Regions from separate parts of the Homo sapiens genome. Here regions 1, 2, 3, 4, 5 and 7 are each linked to region 6. The links are contacts of gene promoters, found by promoter capture Hi-C in blood cells and fetal thymus (Javierre and others, 2016). All regions are on one chromosome and are shown on one strand. Each heading gives the region's core, a stretch centred on a gene start or on the middle of the fragment in contact. The rest is flanking DNA. Distances are from core to core; before and after follow the strand shown. Region 1 overlaps GBE1 (1,4-alpha-glucan branching enzyme 1). Region 2 overlaps LOC105377179 (a long non-coding RNA gene). Region 3 overlaps LINC02008 (long intergenic non-protein coding RNA 2008). Region 4 overlaps GBE1 (1,4-alpha-glucan branching enzyme 1). Region 5 overlaps LOC124906199 (a long non-coding RNA gene). Region 6 holds the start of GBE1 (1,4-alpha-glucan branching enzyme 1). Region 7 overlaps GBE1 (1,4-alpha-glucan branching enzyme 1).

The links. The method cuts DNA at HindIII sites, captures the fragments that hold promoters and counts their contacts. A CHiCAGO score of 5 or more calls a contact.
Region 1: a contact is called between a fragment that was not itself captured here and the fragment with the promoter of GBE1 in region 6, in 2 of 17 cell types (non-activated CD4 T cells and naive CD8 T cells). The highest score is 6.1, in non-activated CD4 T cells.
Region 2: a fragment that was not itself captured here is called in contact with the fragment with the promoter of GBE1 in region 6 in 1 of 17 cell types (M0 macrophages); the score reaches 7.8 in M0 macrophages.
Region 3: a fragment that was not itself captured here is called in contact with the fragment with the promoter of GBE1 in region 6 in 2 of 17 cell types (M0 macrophages and monocytes); the score reaches 6.7 in M0 macrophages.
Region 4: a contact is called between a fragment that was not itself captured here and the fragment with the promoter of GBE1 in region 6, in 2 of 17 cell types (total CD4 T cells and non-activated CD4 T cells). The highest score is 5.9, in total CD4 T cells.
Region 5: a fragment that was not itself captured here is called in contact with the fragment with the promoter of GBE1 in region 6 in 1 of 17 cell types (monocytes); the score reaches 5.3 in monocytes.
Region 7: a contact is called between a fragment that was not itself captured here and the fragment with the promoter of GBE1 in region 6, in 1 of 17 cell types (non-activated CD4 T cells). The highest score is 5.6, in non-activated CD4 T cells.

Annotation. Positions count from the first base shown.
Region 1 is chr3:81,568,264-81,571,623 of GRCh38, forward strand. The region is part of intron 12 of GBE1 (1,4-alpha-glucan branching enzyme 1); the gene reads right to left. Among named protein-coding and RNA genes, the nearest start is that of GBE1, 190 kb to the right of the region's middle. The HindIII fragment of the contact is 3,132 bases long and covers 265-3,360 here.
Region 2 is chr3:81,951,625-81,954,553 of GRCh38, forward strand. LOC105377179 (a long non-coding RNA gene) reads left to right here. Exons shown (of 4, transcript XR_940999.2): 4 at 1,496-1,640. Among named protein-coding and RNA genes, the nearest start is that of LINC02008, 33 kb to the right of the region's middle. The HindIII fragment of the contact is 994 bases long and covers 831-1,824 here.
Region 3 is chr3:82,002,561-82,005,627 of GRCh38, forward strand. All of the region lies in intron 1 of LINC02008 (long intergenic non-protein coding RNA 2008), which reads left to right. Among named protein-coding and RNA genes, the nearest start is that of LINC02008, 18 kb to the left of the region's middle. The HindIII fragment of the contact is 4,659 bases long and covers 1-3,067 here.
Region 4 is chr3:81,588,343-81,591,377 of GRCh38, forward strand. GBE1 (1,4-alpha-glucan branching enzyme 1) reads right to left here. Exons shown (of 16, transcript NM_000158.4): 9 at 2,695-2,822. Among named protein-coding and RNA genes, the nearest start is that of GBE1, 170 kb to the right of the region's middle. The HindIII fragment of the contact is 2,038 bases long and covers 256-2,293 here.
Region 5 is chr3:81,973,499-81,976,514 of GRCh38, forward strand. All of the region lies in intron 2 of LOC124906199 (a long non-coding RNA gene), which reads right to left. Among named protein-coding and RNA genes, the nearest start is that of LINC02008, 11 kb to the right of the region's middle. The HindIII fragment of the contact is 618 bases long and covers 1,169-1,786 here.
Region 6 is chr3:81,760,297-81,763,674 of GRCh38, forward strand. It overlaps GBE1 (1,4-alpha-glucan branching enzyme 1), which reads right to left and starts at 1,349. Exons shown (of 16, transcript NM_000158.4): 1 at 1,079-1,349. The coding sequence starts at 1,221. RefSeq lists enhancers at 628-797, 1,138-1,427, 1,214-1,822 and silencers at 898-977, 1,478-1,577. The HindIII fragment of the contact is 5,689 bases long and covers 1-2,050 here.
Region 7 is chr3:81,512,646-81,515,868 of GRCh38, forward strand. All of the region lies in intron 14 of GBE1 (1,4-alpha-glucan branching enzyme 1), which reads right to left. Among named protein-coding and RNA genes, the nearest start is that of GBE1, 250 kb to the right of the region's middle. The HindIII fragment of the contact is 2,694 bases long and covers 288-2,981 here.

The DNA.
Region 1 (3,360 bases), core at 581-3,080, 190 kb before region 6:
CAGCCTCCCAAGTAGCTGAGACTACAGGTGCGTGCCACCATGCACAGCTAATTTTTGTATTTTTAGTAGAGACGGGGTTTCATCACGCTGGCCAGGCTGGTCACCAACTTCTGACATCAAGTGATCCACCGGCCTCAGCCTCCCAAAATTGTGTTCTCAATTTTAACAATGTTTTTGTTTTCTTTGTGTCACTTATCATTTGCAGGTTTTTTATTTGTTTTGTTTTGTTTTGCCATTTCTCTCTGTTGCCCTTAACAGAAATTAAGCTTCCTGAGGAAAGAGGCTATATTTATCCTGACCACTTTGCATGTCAAGCATTTAGTAGAGTAACTAAAACAATTCCTAGTACGGAATGTGTACTTAGTAACTACCTGAGTTAATGAATGAGTGAATGAAAGCAAGCATTCCAAAAGTTCCCAAATGCGTTAAGGATTGTTCTTAAAAGGTTGACTTAAGGGAGGAAAAAGACTTAAAAAATATTGTGTGTCTGTATCTGTGTTAGACACGAACGTGTGTGTGTGTATATATATATATGTGCATGTGAGTATATGTGAAGACATATATATGTATGTGTGTGTATATATATACATATATAAATGGAGAGATAACATTTATACACAGATTGTGAGCTAAATGGAGAGATAACATGTATACACAGATTGTGAGCTATCTAGGAGAAACTATTGACTATTAAAATGCCATAAACATTCCAGCTACCACCCCCCCAAAATATGAATTGACATTTTAAAGATCTAAAAAAAATACCAAATTACATGTGACCAATATTAGAAAGGAGCTATACTTAACATCTTACTTCAATTCACTAGTGACACAACTGTTTTATGGAACATTTATATTTATATGATAAAAATTTAATTTTTCCCAAATGTCCAAATTACATTTGAAAACTAATTTTTTAATGTTTTTAGTTATTACTGACATTAGCACTAATAAGGGTAAACAATAGGGGAATTAAAAAAACTAATTTAAATGTAGGACATTAGGAATTAAATTTTACTTTGGTTTCAATGCTAAGATAAAAAATGTTACAGGACATGTAAACTGTGAAATATGCCATTTAAAAAGATTTCTCTTATAGCAGTAATACATAGCAATATGTAAAGGCCAACTAATATTTTTTGACCTTGTTGTTCTGCCATTTACATGATATGGCATTCCACCAGTGAGTAGAAGATGTGGCAAGGGGTCAGAGATGTTCATGCCCTTGCCATTTAAGAGCTTGACCTGTGAGTTGCTTATACAGCACTACCATTAACATCCTTCTGGCCATAACTGCTGGTCACATGACCTCAGCAGGCTTCCAAAGAACCTGGGGAATGTGCTTGTTATTCTGGCCATCCATGTACCCAGTTAAAATTTGGAGGAAAAGTGTTAATGGAGAAAACTAGCAGTCACGACCACAGCTATGAGAGAGCAGACGGAGTATCTATCACACAAATACAACACATTAGTAAACACTTAACTGAAAAACTGTTTCAAACATTGATTTCTAATAAAGAAAATAATTGCCACTTTTCTTTGCTTACTTATTTTATTTTATTTTTTTAATTTCAAGATTTTGCTCTTGTTGCCCAGGCCGGAGTGTAATGGTGTGATCTTAGCTCACTGCAACCTCCACCTCCCAGGTTCAAGAGATTCTCTGCCTCAGCCTCCCGAGTAGCTGGGATTACAGGTGCCTGCCACTACACCTGGCTAATTTTCTGTATTTTTAGAAGAGATAGGATTTAACTTGCCAGGCTGGTCTCAAACTCCTGACCTCAGGTAATCCACCCACCTCAGCCTCCCAAAGTGCTGGGATTACAGGTGTGAGCCACCATGACTGGCCTGCTTACTTATTTTTATAAAGCCAAAGACAATATTAATTTTCAGACTAAAATATACGGTCACTAGGTGTTTCTTTTACAGTGATAACTTCTAATTAACCTAAGAAACAGAATGTTAAATTAGAAAAAAAAATTCTTAAAGGCATGCAGTTGACATATTTTACAGAAATCTATGGGATTAAGAATTTGTACCATTTGTTCAAAGTATCCTGATTGCCAACACAGATTCAGAACTCATAACTGATCTATTGGCTCTCAGGATATGATTGTTGTACTAAAATTACAGATGTTTCTCATAAGTGTGAGCAAGATGTTATGAATCTCCAAGCATGAAAGATATTCCCAAATCTTAAGAGGGAGAAGATGAAGGTTGATGGATTTCACACAAAGTAAAGTTGCATAAAGTTACCACAGGTATTTTCAAAAAGTGCATGATCTTTATAATTTAACGCCTGCCTACTTTTTACTTCCTGTGTATCAGGAAATGAAATTGGAGACTGGTGTAATTGTAACTTAGTACTCAAGAAGTAGGAAGCAGAGATATCTGGGTGGAAAGGTAGGCAGTAGTTGGATCATAAAGGATGTTATAGGCCTTCATAAAGGGGTGGGCATTGCACTATAAGTTCATTGATCATGTGTATACAGTATGTCTTTAAAAGCCTGAATTGGAACACCACTAGTTCTTAATTCTCTTAATTCAGTTAGAATAAAAGAAGGTATGGGTTTCTAAAGAGCCTAAAAAACCATAAACATAATTATATCTGTAAATGTGTCCCCATACATGCTGGCAAGTAGAAAAATAACTCCATGTTTATTTTCTACCAAGTGCCCTATATAAAAGATAATGATAACATGATTGCTTTTAATAGTAGGAATTAGGCTTTTAAAGTCAAGACAGTATACACTCAGGATCTAAAGTCTTCTTTAACAGGAAAAGCAACATATTACTCTGAAACAAACAAAAATAAAATGGAGGGAAAAAGGAGGTAAATTCAAGGTGGAAGGATAGGAAAAGAGACAGAATTCCAGGAGTCTGACTTCCTACATCATGTCCCATAGCGTTATCTGCACACACAGCTCCTCATATACCTTTTTACTTATTTCCTCCTTTTATTACTTTTCTCCGTTGAAGAGGGAAGACATTAGACATGGAAATAATGAGTTTGATTTGAATGAATTAAGGAATGAATGAGCAAACAAATAAACCAATGGGTTTAGTTGATTCCAGATTTCTTCTGATATTTCAACTTATGTGTTAACATCTCATGTCATGGGGAATATGTTTTATAATGACAACACAGGTTTTCAGTTATATGGAGCACTGAGCTACATTACAGAAGTGAAATGTTGCTGGTTTTCTTGATTTAAGTCTGCTAGTTCAGTATTTTTTTAAATGAGAAATGTGAATCATTTATGTTTCGAGGTATACCCGGAGAGTTATATAAAAAGCATTAAATTTCAAATAGAGTGAAGCTATACTCATTTAAAAAGTGCTCTTCTATAACACTACAATCCC
Region 2 (2,929 bases), core at 78-2,577, 190 kb after region 6:
TTACTGAAAATATTATATTTTGGAATTATGCTTAAAGTTTCACTGCTGAAATTACTTTGAAGGAAATGGCGTCTTCCAAAATAAAGTAACACGTAAAGCTGCCTTTTTCTTTGCACTATGAGAGGAATAAACTGAAAATGAATAGAGATCTAAGCCTCTGTTTGAAGAAGATCCAAGATCTGCGAAGAGGCCATAAGGAGAGGGGAAGTTGATAGGGACTTAAGAGGGAGTTGGCCAAAACAAACTTGGCTGCTTTGCAAGTTTCTCTGACTTGGTGATGCTGTGGGTGCCCGTCAATACAAAACTAATTCTGACCCAGTTGGTTATTTTCATCCTTTATTATTGGCAGCATTTATGGCATTTAACAATAATCCTATGCTAAATTTGTAGGCAGAGGAGCATCTAGCTTTTAAGTAAGATTGTTTTCTCAGTGTTTTGGCAGAGCACAAACTACACACCATAAGGGACATTCTCTAACTCCGTTGAGCGTTATCCTTATTATTATTATTATTTCTTAAGGATATCACAAGTCTAGATTGTCTTTTTGACACTGTGATTCATCGTCATCTACCTTAAGGATCCCATAATGTTAAAAAATCTCTTGGCCCTCAGGGGCAGATAGACTCATATCTCACTTGCTCCCCTAAAAGGCACAAAATCAAATTACACCAAAAGCCTCCTTAGAGTACAGCTCTTTGCCAATTACTTGAATTATTTTCAGCCACTTTGGCACATTTCCTCTCCAGCTGAAATGAAAATCTTTTACTCTGCCCCAGTGAAGGATTTCATATTTCTTAGTGCTTCCACATATACTGTATAATGAGAATAAAAGCTTCTCTGCCTCACAGATCTTTTCGTACAGTGCCATAATGCAGGGAAAATAACATCCATTTCTAACACATGAAGCCCACGTATTTTCTAAAGAAGAAGAGAAAGGCATTAACATTACACAAGAAAACTATTTGCTCTTTGCTTTAAATTTCCAAATTTGAGGACACCGGAGATTTCAGACTTCAAAACTACATACATCTGTGCTGAGACATAGACCCTCTAAGGTGCTTCATTATTGGCACTTAAAGCTGGTTTCATGAAACACCTGGTCTGAGTAAGCAATATGATCAGAGAGTGTCAGCAGGGCAGACAGATTTTAAATGGAAGATTGTTACTTACCCAGAAGCCATTTTGAAGCGAAAAACAGCATTATCAGCAAACCAGTAACAATAACTTAAACATCCCCAAGTGCATTATTAACACTTCTAGCCCTCTAAAGATTAGATGACTTCTTTATAAAAGTTTTTATGTCTCGAGAGAACATATTGTTCTCTGCATTTATCATTTTACAAAAATATTATTTTTCACCAATAGTCTTACTTTTATTATTCCGTCATCTTTTATTTTTGCTTCTGATAAGTGTTATTTCCTCTCTACCAGTGCCTGCAGCAGCCTGCACTGCAATCACTACCCATTGCTCAGTATTTGTCCGTTTTCTCAACAGCCCTTTGGATTGAAACTCTTGCCTGGAGCATTAAGAACTTGGGGGAGAAATCACTACTCACTGCTTTGCTCGCAATTCTCATTTGGACTAGCGCTTGCAGAAACTGAGCTGAACTTTCCGCACTGTTATTGCATCTGTAAGGTAATTGCCTAAACTTGTTGAGCCAATCGGAATTGCTGTTGTTGACTTTTGCAAATGTGAAGAATCCGATGAAGCAATTTGTAAGCCATATGTGGTACATCCCTCTTTCCCCACTCAAAGTCATATTGCTCTCTATAGGATTTTGTGTGATCCTTATGAAACATCACACTCCAGAATTCTATTTTAAAAGCTTCAAACATTAGTGTTTAAAAAGTCATTCATATTTATGGGACCATTTTGTTGCCAAATTCTTGTATTAAAAGAGGGTTAAAATTCTTTAGTAGTACTTTAATGTCTTGGAAAACTTACAGAAAAAAATTATTTAAAAAGAGAGAGAACAGATACACACACATTCATACAGTCTGTAAAATAGGGGAAATATTGTGTCATATGACTGTGTTACATTTTTTTCATCATAAAATTTGTGTTGAGTGCAGGGGCATTCAGAAATGTCTCATTACTATTGCTTCCTGAGTTGAAAAAATCGATTTTTTTTTTTTTTTGAGACGGAGTTTTGCTCTTGTTACCCAGGCTGGAGTGCAATGGCGTGATCTCGGCTCACTGCAACCTCCACCTCCTGGGTTTCATTGATTCTCCTGCCTCAGTCTCCTGAGTAGCTGGGATTACAGGCACCCGCCACCACACCCAGCTGATTTTTATAGTTTTGGTAGAGATGGGGTTTCACCATGTTGGCCAGGCTGGTCTCAAATTCCTGACCTCAAGTGATCCACCTGCCTTGGCCTCCCAAAGTGCTGGGATTACAGGTGTGAGCCACCGCACCCGGCTAGAATGTTTGCTGTGTACATAAACACACACACACACACACACACACACAGAGAGAGAGAGAGAGAGAGAGAGTGAGGGATTTATACCTTCAGTAAAAGCACAGGGAATGTAAAAGCCTTATGTGTTCTCTCATTTAGAGAAATACTGAATGAAGAAATTATAAATTTACTAGACCACATTCCTATCCTCACTTGTTACAAAATTTGAAGTACTTTCCTACATGAAAGAAGATATTGCTCTGACCCAGTTGAATCCTCACTGAATGCTTAACTAGCTAAATTATCCCCTTCATATTTGATGTCATGCAGGTCAGTATCTCTTCAAACAGAGAATTACTAAAAACTAGTCCAATTTCAAAAAATTTTAAAACATTTTTCTCTCTTGCAGATCAGTGGTTAAAAAGATAAAATAATCACCTAAAGTAACCATAATTCCACAGATCCTGTTACACATATTTACCTTGCTGTCTCAATCTTTTTCTTAAAAAGCCACATTATTCACAAATCC
Region 3 (3,067 bases), core at 240-2,739, 240 kb after region 6:
TCTCATTTCGCTTAATAAGAGAGCATTACCACAGCCAAAAACACTGCTTGGTGACATAATGGGCAAGGGCCTGACATGCCCACACAAACGGGCATCAAGGGGCTATTTCAGATTCTTGATTTCTTGCCAAATAGTGAATAATCTTAAAATCAAATGTGCAGCAATAATAGGCCCAGCTGGGAGGATTAAGAAATAAGTATCTATTGAGCTGCCTGATCTCTTTGTTCTTTAGGTTTAGAGTAGGATAAATGAAAAAGGGGAGGCCAAGAGGGAGTGGTTTAATATAGAATAAATTGTCTAAAAGGGATCAGTGAAAGCAGGATTATTGATGAGTTAGGGAGTGAGCTAGCTGACTTTTTATTTTCAGACTAAGACAGGATAGAGATATGGGGATAAACTAGGAAATCAGATAAGAAAAACAAAGGATGCAGGCGTATTTGCCTTAAGTAGTCTTTTTCTGTTTCTGAGATTTCTTATGTTCTTGTGCTCTGAGCCAAGATCAGTTGAGATTAATCAGTTGTATAGAAAGCATTGTGATCACATTGCAGGCTTTTAAAGTTTAAATTTGTTTATTGAGCACAATTTGGTTAGCATCAGGTGCTGAAGTTATAGACACCAACACTAGCATAGAAATTACTTTATTTAGCTCCCAGTTGTAAGTTTCTATAGCAACTGGGGCCTGTACCAGAAAGCTGAGATTCTTGTGCTCAAATGATTCAGGCAGAGATGGCAATATCATATTTAGGGGGGCACTTGCTTCTTTTTTCCAAATTTTTTTCTGTCTTGTGAGAAGCCTCTTTAATGTGATTCTATCTGCTTAGTCATACTTTTAATTACACCTCTGCTTTGAACCCTCTCCTCTTGGCAGCAGTATAAAGTATCTATTTTGGTTGTGTTTCGATTTCCATTGACTAGTTAGTATATTGATGCAGAGGAAATGAATGTGATCTGTTTTAAATACAGTTGAAAATTCTGAATAGTGAAGAAAGTGTCCATGGTGACAAATGCAGTTAACCAATCCAGGAAGAAATTGGGATGTTAATTCAAAAAGGAAACCTAATTTAATTTCTACATTATGCTTTCATTCTGACCATAAATGCAATGTCATGATAATTTTAAATATGGGGGATGTCCCTTATGAAGTTCTCTTTTTAAGTTTTTAAGTAAGTGATTTTATTTTTGTTTTATAAATGAATGTTTTTATTGTAACAAATAGGACTTTTTTGGAGTGGCTTGTTATGGTCGAAGTAATATTTTATGATGCTAGTTTAGCCAATACTGGAGAAAGGCTTAGGAAAAAATAATTACATCCTGGCTCCAATTATGAAAATAATCTCTACATTAAAAATATATAAATATAGTAGATTTTTTGCTGCCTGTGCTTTGGAATGGCTGTAATGCAGGCATCTATCTATCTATCGTGTATATATATATATATAGCTATATAGATCTGTATATGTGTATATCTGTATATCTATATATAGATATACAGATTTCTAGAAAAAATGAATATCAAATAAAATAAACATACTGGAAATACATGTTTTAAATAATATTGTCTTTTTGATGAAACTCCACATTTTACAAGAACTGGCTTTTGATATTTGAAATAATCATGAACTGAGTAGTTTAAAGACTATTTAGTAGAAGATTGCTTATGGTATAATGTATGGCATAGTCTTTTAGTTTGGCAAATGACAAGAATAAACCATAAAAGCAAGGATTCTATTTGTGCCCTAATAAAACAAAAGAAAACAAAGGATTTCCATTTAGTGTTCACATTTACTGCTAACTTGAGGCCTATTAACATTTGGAAAACACAAATTCTAAAGGCAGCTGCCAGCAATTGGCCAATTATAATTTCACGATTGAAAGAGAAAATCTTATTTCACTATGAAATTCTGTACTTGTTTTCTCCTTTCATGAATTACCCCACAGCCAAAGCACGATGTGTGTGAGAGGAAGGAGAAAATAGACTCACTCCTGGTTGTCTGCAGAAATGTATCACCTCAGATGACCTTGATTCTCTTTGCATTCAGTAGGAGATTTTCTTTTACTAATTTTACAACAGATTTAATTGTAATAAAATTAATTCAGATTGTGATTATCTGTCTCTATTTGTACTCAGTTTCTATGAGGAATCTTAAAATATCATCAGTTCCATAGTTGAGTGTCTGTGTGTCATTATTGCAGTATGTCTATTATATCATGATATATCTGAAGTCACGTAAGACCAATTTTGCTCTTTCAGGCAAGCAGTTTTCCAGATCTCTGTTAGAACTCTGAATAGATAATTGCTCCTTTAACAAAACATGCATAGACAAAACATTTGATGAATAAAGAGCAGTTATTAACCTACACTCACATTTGTGAATATCAGGGTTTAGAACTATTACAAAATGGATTCTGCCATGAGTCAGTTTTGTTTTTCCTTTTCAAATATATCCGTTACATATTTTTTTTTCCTTCAGGTAACTTACAGTAATATTGCTTAATTTAAAATGTACCAGCTCTCCTAATGTAGCAACTTGATTAAAAAGAATTAAATGTTTACTCAAAATCATAGTCAAATAGAATGTAGAACTTGAAAATAGTAAGTTGAATTTCTCAGTATTTTATTGCAGAAATGAAAATAGTAATTATTGGAGGAGATAAGTGATTTATACAATTTGGTTTTGTTAGCTAAATCAAAACAGGCTTACTTAAACATGTATTTGAATCATAAATTGGTTTTTGTAGTCACAAACCAATTATACTGGATTCTTATTAATTATTTGTTGGTAACAGTAAACAATCAATAGATTAGAGTGTCAAAAGCATTTGGTGGGGGGAGGGGTGTTACGTGCAGAAACATTCACCTAGACCATCTGAGGCTCCTCTCTTTAGAAAGCTCATTTGCAAGATTTGACCACTGACTGATACCTGGGAACTTGGCTTCTGAAGCACTCCCTTAACTGGTAAGGTAATTTCTCTGGGCCTAGACATTCGTATAAACAGTGGAATTTATTGTAATGTCTGCTTTCTTTTTGTAAGTCTGGAATTCTGGTAGTTGCTAGGCAAAAGCGTC
Region 4 (3,035 bases), core at 25-2,524, 170 kb before region 6:
AGGAACTAGAATTACAGACACAATGCCTTCTGAAAAGAGTTTTGAAAGACCAAACTGTCAAGAATGACTGGTGATGGACTGGTATTAAAGATCAAGATGAATTTTCTCAAGAAAATATTAAGGCATGTTCTGTATCCAGTCCCAATGTTGTTTTAGGAAATAGAATCTGCTAAGAAAAACATATGGTAATCATGAAACCCAAACATCCCATAGACATATTTTTTTGGATAAACATAGAATTGAATCCTTTTGAAAAGCTTGAAACCTACATTTGTCCCTCAAGTCTTCTCAAAAAAAAGTATCAAAGAACTGAAGCTCACCAAATCATGGCATGCAATGAGATGCCAGACCGGTCATTCCTCATGATTGCTTCCTTACCCCTCTCTAGTTCTGTTTTCTTACACATTGTTACATTTATTTCTTACTATATAAACCTCTAATTTTAGTTGGTAAGAGAGATGGATTTGAGACTGATCAAAGCCTTCTTCTACGGCAATAATCATTGTCTCCGTGATTGGCTTTCTGTGCAGCAAGCAGCAGGACCTAGACTAAACCCCTGGTGATTTGGTAACAATCATATAGTCTTGACTCCTAAATCTGACTTCTAGAAAGTTGCCTCATTAATGCATATGAGTTGTTTCAGCCCTCCTTTTGAAGGTGGAAAGTTTGTGACTGTTCTTTTAAAATTTTTAAGAAAAAAAAGGTAAATCATAAAGGTCATCAAAATAAACATACTCTAAATATAAAACAATTGATGCCTATTCATATGGCATATGAAAATGATTCTGTGTTTGGGATGAAATTAAAATAGTTCTAATTTTTTACTATCTAAAGAGCACTTATAACCATTCCAGAGGGAAAGATACATCAATCAAAAATGTTTTAATTAATATAGCAAATATAATAATGTAAAATGGTAGATAAACTTGAGCAAAATAAGGTTGCAATTTTTGTAATTGTCATTATAAATAAATTCATATTTCTACTAAAGGAATTTAAATAAAATTACATTGCTTATTCGTTCAAATACATTCCTTTTCTTAAAAAAAAAAAAGTTCATGGGGATCAATTCTACATTTGGAAGAGACTCCCGCTAGACAGAAAAGTGACGTATTGAAATTGAAGTAGTTTTCAATTTAAGTGGAATAAATTGAAGGCACATCTTTTTTTAAAAAAAAAAAAAATCTAAAACCAAGTAATATAAAGTAGGCTAAAGTCTCAAAGTTTCATTGGTAGAAACACTGATAATCAGACCAGAGCTCCCTAGATGATGAAACTATTTTACTTGAAATGAATGGAAAGATCAATGTAACAATTTTAACTTTCATGTATTAAATCATTGCTTCTTTTTCTTCAGTACTCACTTTTGATTTGTGCTGTCATTAATTGTTTGTAGTAATTTGTCATTTGTAATATCTCTGCTTTGGATTGCCATAAATATCATTGACAAAATAATTAATTTTTTGATGTTTGACATATAAAATTCAAATATACATAAGGCAAAAGTTTAAAATACACTCTGATTGATGTTAAAGATATTCAGCACAAAAAATATTAGCACAAGTATTAGTAAGATGTGCTATGATCAAACGTAGGTAGGTCATGACTGTGAAAAAATACTGGGTGTCTAAATTGTATGGTAGGTTGTTTGTTTTTTAATTGTATATAAGAACGAATTTCAGGAATTTAGGGCTACTGCTTTATTCCCAGAAAATACTTAAAAAGTAAAATGCCTGAAGGGAATAAAACTATTCTCCTCTATCCAAGCGGTGAAATCATACCATTTATAAAATTGGAGATTTCTGATTTTGAGAAATGGTGGATATAAAAACAGTCTATACAAAAAATAAATACTACAGGAAGGAGACTATTCCATTTCATGCCAATAAGCTAAACACCAACAATGTAAAAACACACCTTAATTCTAACTATTTTTAACAGTAGTCTTACTATTTTTATATCTCAACCACTATACTTTGTATAGAACAGTTTTAACATGCTAAATTCAATTTTAATAATAATTCCTAGTTAGAGAACTTAGAAAACCAGAGGGATTTTAGCACTAAATCTAAATTAGCATAAGCATTTAACAAACTTCTTAATTTATCACATTTATCACCAAGAGGGGAATTGTCAATTATGCATATATGGAATTATATCATTACAGTGCAGCTTTGGGACAGTTAATCATGAACCTTCAACAATCATGAATAACTAGTGAACATTTGGCAATCTGAGAGCAATAACATAAACAAGAAAGGTAATCACATCAGAACAAGAAAGGCTTCAGAGAAGCTTGCAGGCAGCAATCCATCCTATCTTTAATGATTGAGCCAAAAAAGAAAAAAATAATAATAAATGGACAGACACACATTAATATTCAATTCTTTTCTCTGCTGAAGGTCTCATAGCGAAGGGCCTGTCCACTGATTAGGACATTTAACTCTCCAACCACTGGCATTTTCTTTTTTAACAACAGAATGGTGACAAGTAATTAGTATACATTATCTTCTAATAGGGAAACAGTGAATTCTAAATAATGTGCCACCCATACAAGATAGCTGCACTATACTCAGGGTAGAATTTCATTTACGCAATTATTGACAACATGAGATTGATTAATCAAATACTGTATGCTGACAAAATACTCTCTATTAAAGGGGGTCAGAAGGTAAGACTTCACTATGGCTTTACCTCAGCTATTGTTATAGAATCGGGACACAGCGTGTGAACCAAATGATTTGCCAACATGAGGTAAGTCAAGGCATCTTCATCTACTTGTAGTCCGAAATATTCACTGTAATCACCTGAGAAACCTTGACCTTAGAAAAAGAAAATCAATACGGATATATTATGTTAACAAGCAAGTCTTAACTCTGCACAAATACATTCACCAATTAGTTTGTTTATATGAATTTTGTTATTGTAGCAGTTTAATAACATAAGCATCAGCAAATATACTGACTTAGAAAAGTACTACATGTCAACATTCAGAGTTCAGACAATTCTGCAAATCAATTTTGTTTGACAAATGC
Region 5 (3,016 bases), core at 228-2,727, 210 kb after region 6:
GGATATCTTTATTTATATAAGAACTAAAGCTTTAAAGGAAAGGCAGAAAGTTTTTTATGAGATTTCAAGACATCAGGGAGGTAAAGGAGATCTTTTGAGGAGGTCCTTAACATTTTACCAGCTTGTAATTTTACTTAAGAGTAGTGAGAGGTATTCTAATTGCAGGAATGGGAAGAAAACTTCGCCTTTTTGTTAACTTTATTGAAGGTCAGATTTTCTTTTTAAACTTGTCTATATTTATCTGTTATACACTCACTACTCACAGTTAAAGCTTACTGCTTCACTTACTGAACTAATTCGGAAACACACATGCATGCACATACGCACATAGGAAGAGAAAGAAAGAATACCACAAATAAAGCCCAAATCATTCCTGTTCAACCTTCACTGCATCTTTTACACTTAATTGTATTAAACTGTCAGCATTTCACTAGTTTCTTCTTTTTTGTAATGCTTCACTGAGAGTACTACAGCTTACAAAAAGGAACTTTTATCCATAAAAGAGCTTTTCTATTGAATGAATCAGAAGATAAAACCAATGCACTTTAAAAATATCTCTCTATCATTTTTTCTCAGCTTGTTGCTCCAGACCTCGAGTTTAAACTAGTTCGAAATCAATCAACTCACTCAGAAGTAGAATGAAAGACTTCTCAGAAGAAAGTGAGAACACAGGAAAATATATATTTTTAAATTGCCGATCGTCCCTTACATCTCAGACAGAATTTTTCACTGTCTCGCACAGAATCAGGGCACGTGGTGAAGCATTTGGAAAGCGGATGCTGAGGTCAAGCAGCAAGCATTGGCACATAAATTGCAAGGCAGATTGAGAATTATTAGAGAGGAGAGTAAAACAAAGGGAAAAATAAGTGGCTACTCCATGAAAATAAAATCTATCTTTCATTAGTTCTCATCTAGGATGTAGTGTTAATTGAGAGTAAATATGGATTGATCTCAGAAAAGCAGTCAATTTACAATTTTACAACTCATAGAAACACTATAAAATAAGAATATAAACTCCTTGAGGTAACAAAGTATGTTTTCTACTTTCTTTTCAGACACTCAGAGAGTTGTCTTTACATAGGTGCATAATGAATTCCTTAGGAATGACCTATTAGATTAATTTTGGGGAAATTCATTCGATTAAGAATTATAAAACTATAGAATCCCAAGCTTAATGTTTCTCACAGTTAGTAATATTTCTAATGGCGACTTAGTGACAATCTAGAAACATGTTGAGGATGCCCAATAGGAGTAAATCCTTCTAACATTGAATATGAATATGAAATAGAAGAAATTAGAAGTGCTCCCAGGTGACCAAACCTCACTGTTCACTGTGTGCACTGGTGAAGGCTTTAGGAGTAAAGGATTAACAGTGCTTGTGTGTGTGCTGTGTCAGAATCATCAGTTAACCAGGAGACTATCATGCACTTAGTAATCACAATGACAAAAGGAGAGCCTTGGCTTAGAGGGAAGGGAATTCGTTGGAGACATATATTACCATTAACTGAGGTAGAACAGAACTCGTTTTCTTTCAGTTTCTCTTTTCTGACTGGCCATCCTTATTTTTTTTTCTCTTTTGTTAACCTCATTTTTATGAGTGCTCTGAAAATACTGGTTATTGATTTTACAGTTATGAAGTTGATAAATGCTGAAGTTTCTGCCCTAGGACAACCTTTTAAAATAAAATTGTGAAAAGATGGAACGTTACTAAAAGAAAGTAGCAACATCCATTAATGTCTGTTTCTGTTATATATTTGTATATCATAATAATATTATTAGTAATTGAAGCTTCCTAACTCATTCATTAATTAGCCTGTTCATAAACTTGAGCTGTGTATCCACTCTGTGCCAGGCACTGCGCTTGGGACCAAGAATTAAAAGATGCATATCTTACTCCATTCTCCAGGAGCTTTTATTTTCTGGGATACTAGTCCAGGACCAGTTGATGATGAAACTATCTTAAGTGGCATGCTACGATTTTGTAAAGAATATTACAGGGGAGTAGAGAAGGGTGAGCCATGCTTTCAAGGAAAAGGTAAAATATAAGTTAAGTCTTGAATTCAAACTGGAATTAGGTTGGGAGAGGAGGGTGTTAACTGAAGTTAGCTAAAATGTGGGTGCCAAGCATGGGCCTAAGTGAGTCACTGTACTGTCTCTAACTGCCCGTCCATCTCAGTGTTCTGCCTGCTAGGCCCTCAGTAAATAGAAGTTCAAGGAAGAAATCTACGTACATGGAATGGTAATGTTACAAATATAACTCTAAAATATTTGAGTAAAATAAGATTATTTTTACAGAGCCAACATAGTAGCTTCTTAGAGTCTTTGTCATTGTTTCTGGTGTTTTCTCCTCTTTTAGGTCTCTTCAGGAGTAACAGTAGTGTTCTCTTACATCAAGGAGTAAGAAAATTACAGAGCTAAAGAATAGGAGGAAATGAGATAGAAGTAATTCTAAAATCACAAATACTAGAAAAAAATTGCTAATGATTCATAAGGCATATTTTAGAGACTTCAATAGTAGTAGGCAGTCGTTCTGTAATTAATTCATGCAACTCAATTGAAGGTAGATGCATGTTCAATCCATGCTATTGTTTATATGAAATAAGTCCTTCAAACTAAAATTAAATACCTTTATGTATGAGGCTAGTTGAATTTCATAATATTATATTTTATGGTAAAAGTTACAGGGGTAGGCAAATATTACCGTAAATAGTTAATAATACTTAATATCTGCTAAGCATTGCAAAGGTGGTTTTTTAAAGGGAGATCAGGCAACAGTTCGAGTATGGGAAATCCTTTGTAGAATTTAAAAAATGGGTATCTTCTTTTGGCAAGAAGTAAAATGTATCCTCTATGTTTTGGTTTAGAATTTTGAGAATTTTTTTTTCCTGCTGAAACAGAACTGCCGTTGATCTTTGAACAATGTGGGGGTTAAGGGTACCGACTCCTGTGCAGTCAAAAATTCACATATAACTTTTGACTCCCCCAAAACTTTACTAATGACGTACTGTTGACCAGA
Region 6 (3,378 bases), core at 99-2,598:
GCTGATTTGAATGCATTTAATACCTGAAAATGCTAGGACACAAACAATTTGCTGGGCTTTTTTCAAACTCCAAATCAACCCATTTTCATTACTCTCAACGCTCCTTCATGCCAGTTAACTAGTTGGATGTTTTCCATCACTCGAAAAATTGGCCATGTATATTCTGTTGCCAGGATAGTTTCCATTCTGCAGTGTCTCTCCTAAAAGGGGAGAAACTATTAAATCAAAATGGGGTAACCTCACAAGTATAACTATTACAACTTGTATAATAGCTCTTTTACTTCAAACAACAACGACAACAGAAAAAGACCTGTACCTTTTTAGTGGAACTTATGAATAGAATTATTAGCCCAGTAACTAAAGTTGTATGGTACACAATGGTAGAAGACAAGCTAAAACGACATTGGCCTGTAAAAGTTGCTTTCCTGACCTTTCTCCCTCTTCAAGATGGTTAAAGTCACACACGGACAAATGTTGATGTACATTTAACTTCTCAATGTTGATCCAAGGGGAGAAAAAATTGATCAATGTAGGTGTAATCTTCCCCTAAATGAGGAATATTAGCAAGGAAAAAACAAAAGGATATAGTGTCTGCCTGAAGGAATCCTCTTAGATATAAAATCACAACATTTGCTATGAAATAAACTAGAAAGTTTTAAATGCGTAATTACACGTGCCAGGAGTTATGCCCACGTTACTCCACAGGCCCACGCTAGTGGGTGCCAAAGTCAGAAAACCTGCAGCGGCGGTGAGTCACTCCCCAGCAGCACTCTGGGGAATAAGTGTTGGAGCCACAGCACGTACCCTATGGCGCAAGACCGCTGATTAGAACAGAGGGGAAAGGGGATGAGGAAAGAAGTTTCTTCAGCGCCCGCTCCGGGCACCAGCGCTGTCAAACCTGCCACTACGGAAGCCACAGAACCCGGTTACCCGAGTCACCCCGAGCCCCGCCCACTCAGGTTCCTCCCCGCCTGGGGCGGGGTTGGCGCGCGAGGGCCGAGGGGCGGCCCGTGTCCCGAGACGGCTCCTGGGAGGCGGGCTGCCTGTCTAAGTGGGGGTGGTGGGATTCCGGCGGTACCTGCGCTGGAAGTCCACGGCGTAGGGCTTCAAGTACGGGTCGATCTCCAGGAGTCTGGCCAGTTCGGGCACGTCAGCCAGGGCGGCATTGAGCGCCGCCTCGTAGTCCTCGGGCCGAGCCGCGGGAGTCATCGGAGCCGCCATATTCCGCCGCAGTCCAAGTAGCCGAGGCCCGAGAGGTCGAGTGGGGCCTGAGCGGGCGCTGGAGCTCTAGCTGGGACGCGGCGGCTAGGGCGGAGCCGGAGGGCGCCTAGGCGTGTCGAGGCAAGCCGAGGCGAGCCGCGGCGGTCCGGGGCCCTTTATAGCCGGGACGGAAGGCCTCCTGCCCTTTCTCCCCCCGCCAGCGGGGAGGAGCGGATCCCGGGGTGATGCCGGGACGCACGTCCGGAGCGGGTAGGAGGCACCGAGGCCTCTCCGCCCACTCACGCGGCTGGCACCTGGAGGCCGCAGGGACCTGCCCTTTCCTCCCCTTAACGGTTTTTTCCTGCTGGCGGAGGTCATTCTAGGAGGTGGGTCCCAAGCTGACCTCGCTCAGCCTTGGCCTTCCTCACCCTGACATATTCTTGGCTTTTCTTTACCCACTTAAGCACCCACTGACAGCGACCCCTTCAAATTGGACATAAGGGGTTTTTTTGGAAAGGACCGTATTTCTCAAAGTTCTGAGACTTTTGAGGGGCAGTATTTCAAACATATCATGTAAATTCACAGAGAGGGGAACAGTCAAGTGTAGCTAGAGTACTACTGCTGAAAATGTTAATACCTCTTACAACCAGGACTCTCCTAAGTTTGCCAGGTCACGTGAATTTAAAATTAACCAAGACACAGAATCCTGGAATACCGTTGGAATTCTGCTGTTCTGGTACTCTTTTCTGCATTACCAACAGCTAAGAATTTTAGCCATGGGAAGAACTTTTCTCATTCTCCGTAAGGCCAAAAAGGAAAAGGCATTTGCCTGTGTTTATAATTGTTAACAAGCTTTTCAACGATTAAACTACCTTTGATAACACAAATGATATCATTGAATTGGAACTCCACTCTGCCACTTACAGTGATAAGGCAAGAAACCTCTCTTCCTCTTGGCTTGGGAAGCTCCCACTTGGAATTCCCTTCTTTTATTGCCATTAACTGACTAGCTTCTATTTCAATAATTGCTTTTTAGGAATACAGAGTTGGACTCCAAGAGAGATGGACCCACCAAACCCAGGAGGGTCCAAGCTGCTTTACACCTAGAAACTAGAGAGGATTGAGGATATTTTTCTTGTTAAAACCCAGAACTGGAGGATCCTAGGGGTTATGGAGGAGAAACAGTATTAATCAGCCGTGGGCCTTGAATTTTAAAATATTTCAAAGGAAAGTTTTTATAAGGGGTTTCATAGACTTGAAAGATAAGTGGATATGAAGACAGACCTCAGTGTGAAAAAGTGAAGGACTTGAACGACTTTAAGACGTGCCTTGTTTTCCATAAAGATGACAAAAAACTGCTGCAGACATTTGTAAAATATAAAGCACTAAAAAAGGAAGAAAATTAAAAAAAAATAAAAACCCGAAGCAGGACAACTATTAATAACAGACCCACAGATCTACATCTCCAAGCCTAAACTTTTTTCAGAAACCCAGGCTTGTATCACTGCCTGTCTACTGAGATTTCCATTTAGCTGGCTAGGAGACCTAAACAAACTGTCTGCAAAACGTGACCTAGAATCCGTCTTCTCATCCTTCCTGCTGTCACTCTTATGCAGGCCACTGTTTTCCTTCACTTGGACCAGAATGTAGCTCTCTAACTGACTTCCCCTCTTCTACTCTTTCTCACCTCTACTCCATTCTCTGTACCAGTGTTTCTCACACTTTAATGTGCATATGAATCACCTAGGGATCTTAATTGAGTTCCGATGTGGTGCTTCAGATTGCATTTTTAACAAGCTCAGAAGTGATTCTGATGCTGGTGGTTGGGGACACAGTTTGGTGAGACTCTACACTGAGTAAATCAGACGATGTCATTTAGCAACTTAAATAGCATAGTATTTCACTTAGGGTAAAATAGAAACAGCTTATCATTCTCTAACAAGGCTTGTATAATCTGGACCCTGACTACCTTTCCAGCCACTTTTCTCATCATTTTCCAGTTTTACTATGCTCTAGTCACACTGACTTTCCTGGAACTCAGTGAATTTGTTGTATAATAGCCTCTAAGATTATTTGCTTGCTGTTCTCTCTGTTGGAAATTTTCAGGGAGCTGAGCTCTACTTGCTTAATTTTTTCCAAGCCTTCATTCCAGCCTCAGCAAAAATGTCACCTCATACC
Region 7 (3,223 bases), core at 385-2,884, 250 kb before region 6:
TAGATTTAAATCACATTTATTCAATGACTAGAAATACGACCTTGTGAAAATTATAAATCTTTCTGATCCTCACATGTAGATTGAGGACAAAAAATGCTTGCCTAACCAGTATCACTGGAGATGATGTGAGGATAAGATGGGTTAATGTAAGTAAAAGTATTCGCATATTGTAAATTGCCATGCAAATTTAACTTTTGGTACTAATTTTGATCTCTTAAAATAAGCTTGTATTTCAGACACATGATTCATACGACTAATTAAATTCTCATAAAAATTGAAAAAAAATAAGCTTATATATATCTTAACCCAAGTAATTTTGTTTAATTTGAATGGGCTGAGCTAGGTTATACTAGAGTTTTTCAGTTTCAAAAATTTATAATTCCATGCTGCCCAGTTTTGCCTAACAGTCATTAAACATCACAAAATTGCCCACTGCTTGGTGAATAGGGCATAGGTCAAGGTGGGGAGAATCATTAGGGAACATCTTCATAGAGCTGATAGCTGAAGGGTGGGTGAATTTTTCAGGGAAAAGTGCAAGAAAAATGAATAAATGGATTTAGATCTTAAAAAAGATAACATGAAGAATAGGTGGAAAGAAAAAGAAATCAAGACAGTGCTGCAGGATACAGAGAAAGGGAAATAAGAAAGAAAGGTGGGCAAATAGTACAAGAGTGAGGAAGAGATTTAACAGGGAACAGAAGAGTTTCAATTCCAGTACTGCGAAAGGACTGAAAGGAATCACTGTGTCGTGGTGAAATGGGAACTAGGACATGCGAAAAAACAAAAATCAAAAAACAAAACACTATGTGCTAGAGGGCAAAGAGTTGGAGTTCTGTCTTAGGAAAATCAAGGCCCGGAAAGGCAAATATATCCTCGTTTTGTCTTCACCCATGTAATAAAGGTGTTTATTGTTTTGTTCCCCCAAAAAAAAAACAAAAAACAAAAAGTAGGACAATAGAAAAAAGACAACAGACAGGATTAGTACCTATTTGTCTTTCTTTTTTATAAAAATTCATTTTTATTATAAAGTTTCTAATGCATTTTTAGAAGATGATGACAGTAAGGATGTCCATTACCCTTACTACTTGCTAAGCTCAAACGTGGGCGACACTGTTGTTAAGCCTTGCATGCATGTTAACTAATCATGAACTAATTTAATTCTGACAACAATTCTATGAATAGGTGTTCTAGAGATAATAACCAAGAAACAAAGAGGCTATTTTCAAAACAAAACTAAGTGGCAGAGATGGAACTTGAACCTCAGATAGTCAATATTCTAGAGCTCAAGCTAACCACTATCCTTGCAATGAGAGCAAATTTCTTTATGTTTACAAATATAAGAACAAGAAATACCTATTACCTCTGGAGACCTTTGTTACATGAGCCAATGGGAAATAAAAATGTTAGAAGTAGAGAACAAACTGAAGAAAATAATGTTTCAGAATTAGAAAATAATGCTACTACAGGAGAAAATTGTTTTTCCTTTGTTTTCTTCAGCTGGCAAAAAGGACAGATGTTAATAGGGAGGCTGGCAAAGTGAAAATTGGCTCTCTCTCTAAATAATAAAGAACACATGAGAAAAAAAAACCCAGTAATGTTTATAATTTTACATACAAACATAATAATTTTTCATTTTAATTAATGTTCTTGAAATAAAATGATCATTGTGTGACAATAAAACGTACTGAGTGTAATCATTTCATTCAGTTATATGTTAATTAAATAATTTTATTTGATATTATCTAAACACTTTCCTTATTCAACAGCTGATACCACATAACTACAAAAAATAACCATAATTAATTTTGTAAATTAATGCTTATTTATAGGAATTAATTAGGCATTTTCCCATCATTAGGCCAACAGAAACTACATTAATAGAATTAGAGATGGTTCTTATGCATGATTACAACTGAATCCACTGCTTCCAAGAACACACTGTTTTTGGCTCTAATATTTCCAACTTTCTCTGAGAAACAGAAACTTCTTTTGGTTGCAGCTTTCAAAAATGCTTAGGAGCCCGTAGGTAATTTTAGCGAGCCAGTAATTATATCACATCTTAATTTTAAGAAATCATCTGGGATACTCAGGTAATACTTTTATGTAAATAAAACACTGACCACTCAGTTTGATCCTGTGAGATTCTGATTAAGAAGAGCTTCACGGAAAATGTCAGAAACACGAATAATATCTCACGTAGGCAGGCAGGAGATACTCATTGAAAAAGGTAATTTCTACTGGCCAGAAGGAAAAGTAATATAACATCCATGTCATAAATTTAGTTTAGACATAGAATGCTCTATTTAAAACACACTGGTATCAGGTATAAAGATGACTAATACAATTTATTTTTTAAATAGAAAAAAAAACATATATTTTGGATAAATTAAGTAAAGCCTAACTTTAAAAGGAAAGGCTCAATGTGAAATCTTTCAGGCCAATGATACTACTGCACCAGCATAGCTCATTTTATCGCACTTTATTGCACTTTACAAATACACATTTTTACAAATTGAAGATTTGTAGCAACGCTGCATCCAGCAAGTGTATTCGTGCCATTTTCCAATAGCATGTGTTCACTTTGTGTCTCTGTGTCACATTTTGGTAGTTCTTGCATTATTTCAAACTTTTTCATTATTAATATATATTAATATATGATTGTCTATTCATAATTATATTATTTTTACATTATCATTATGTCTATGATGATGATCTGTGACCAGTGATCCTTGTTACTATTGTAATTGTTTTGGGGCACCACAAATCATGCACATATGCAACCACAAACTTAATAAATGTGTGTGTTGACTCCTCCAACCTACTGGCCGTTCCCTTGTCTCTTCCCCTTTTCTTGGGCCTCCGTATTGTCTAAGACCATATAGAATTTAGCCCAATTAATAACCCTACAATAGCCTCTAGGAGTTCAAATGAAAAGAAGAGGGGCATGTCTCTCACTTTAAATCAAAAACTAGAAATGATTAAGCTTAGTGAGAAAGGCATGTTCAAAGTTGAGACAGGACAAAGGCTAGGTCCCTTATGCCAAAGAGTTAGCCAAGTTGTGAACGCAAAGGAAAAGTTCTTCAAAGAAATAAGAAGTGCTACTCTAGTGAACGCATGAGTGATAGGACAGTGAACACCAGCCTACTGCTGATAGGAAGAAGTTTTTGGTGGTCTGGATCTAAGATCAAACTAGCCACAACATTCCCATAAGTCAAAGCCTAAT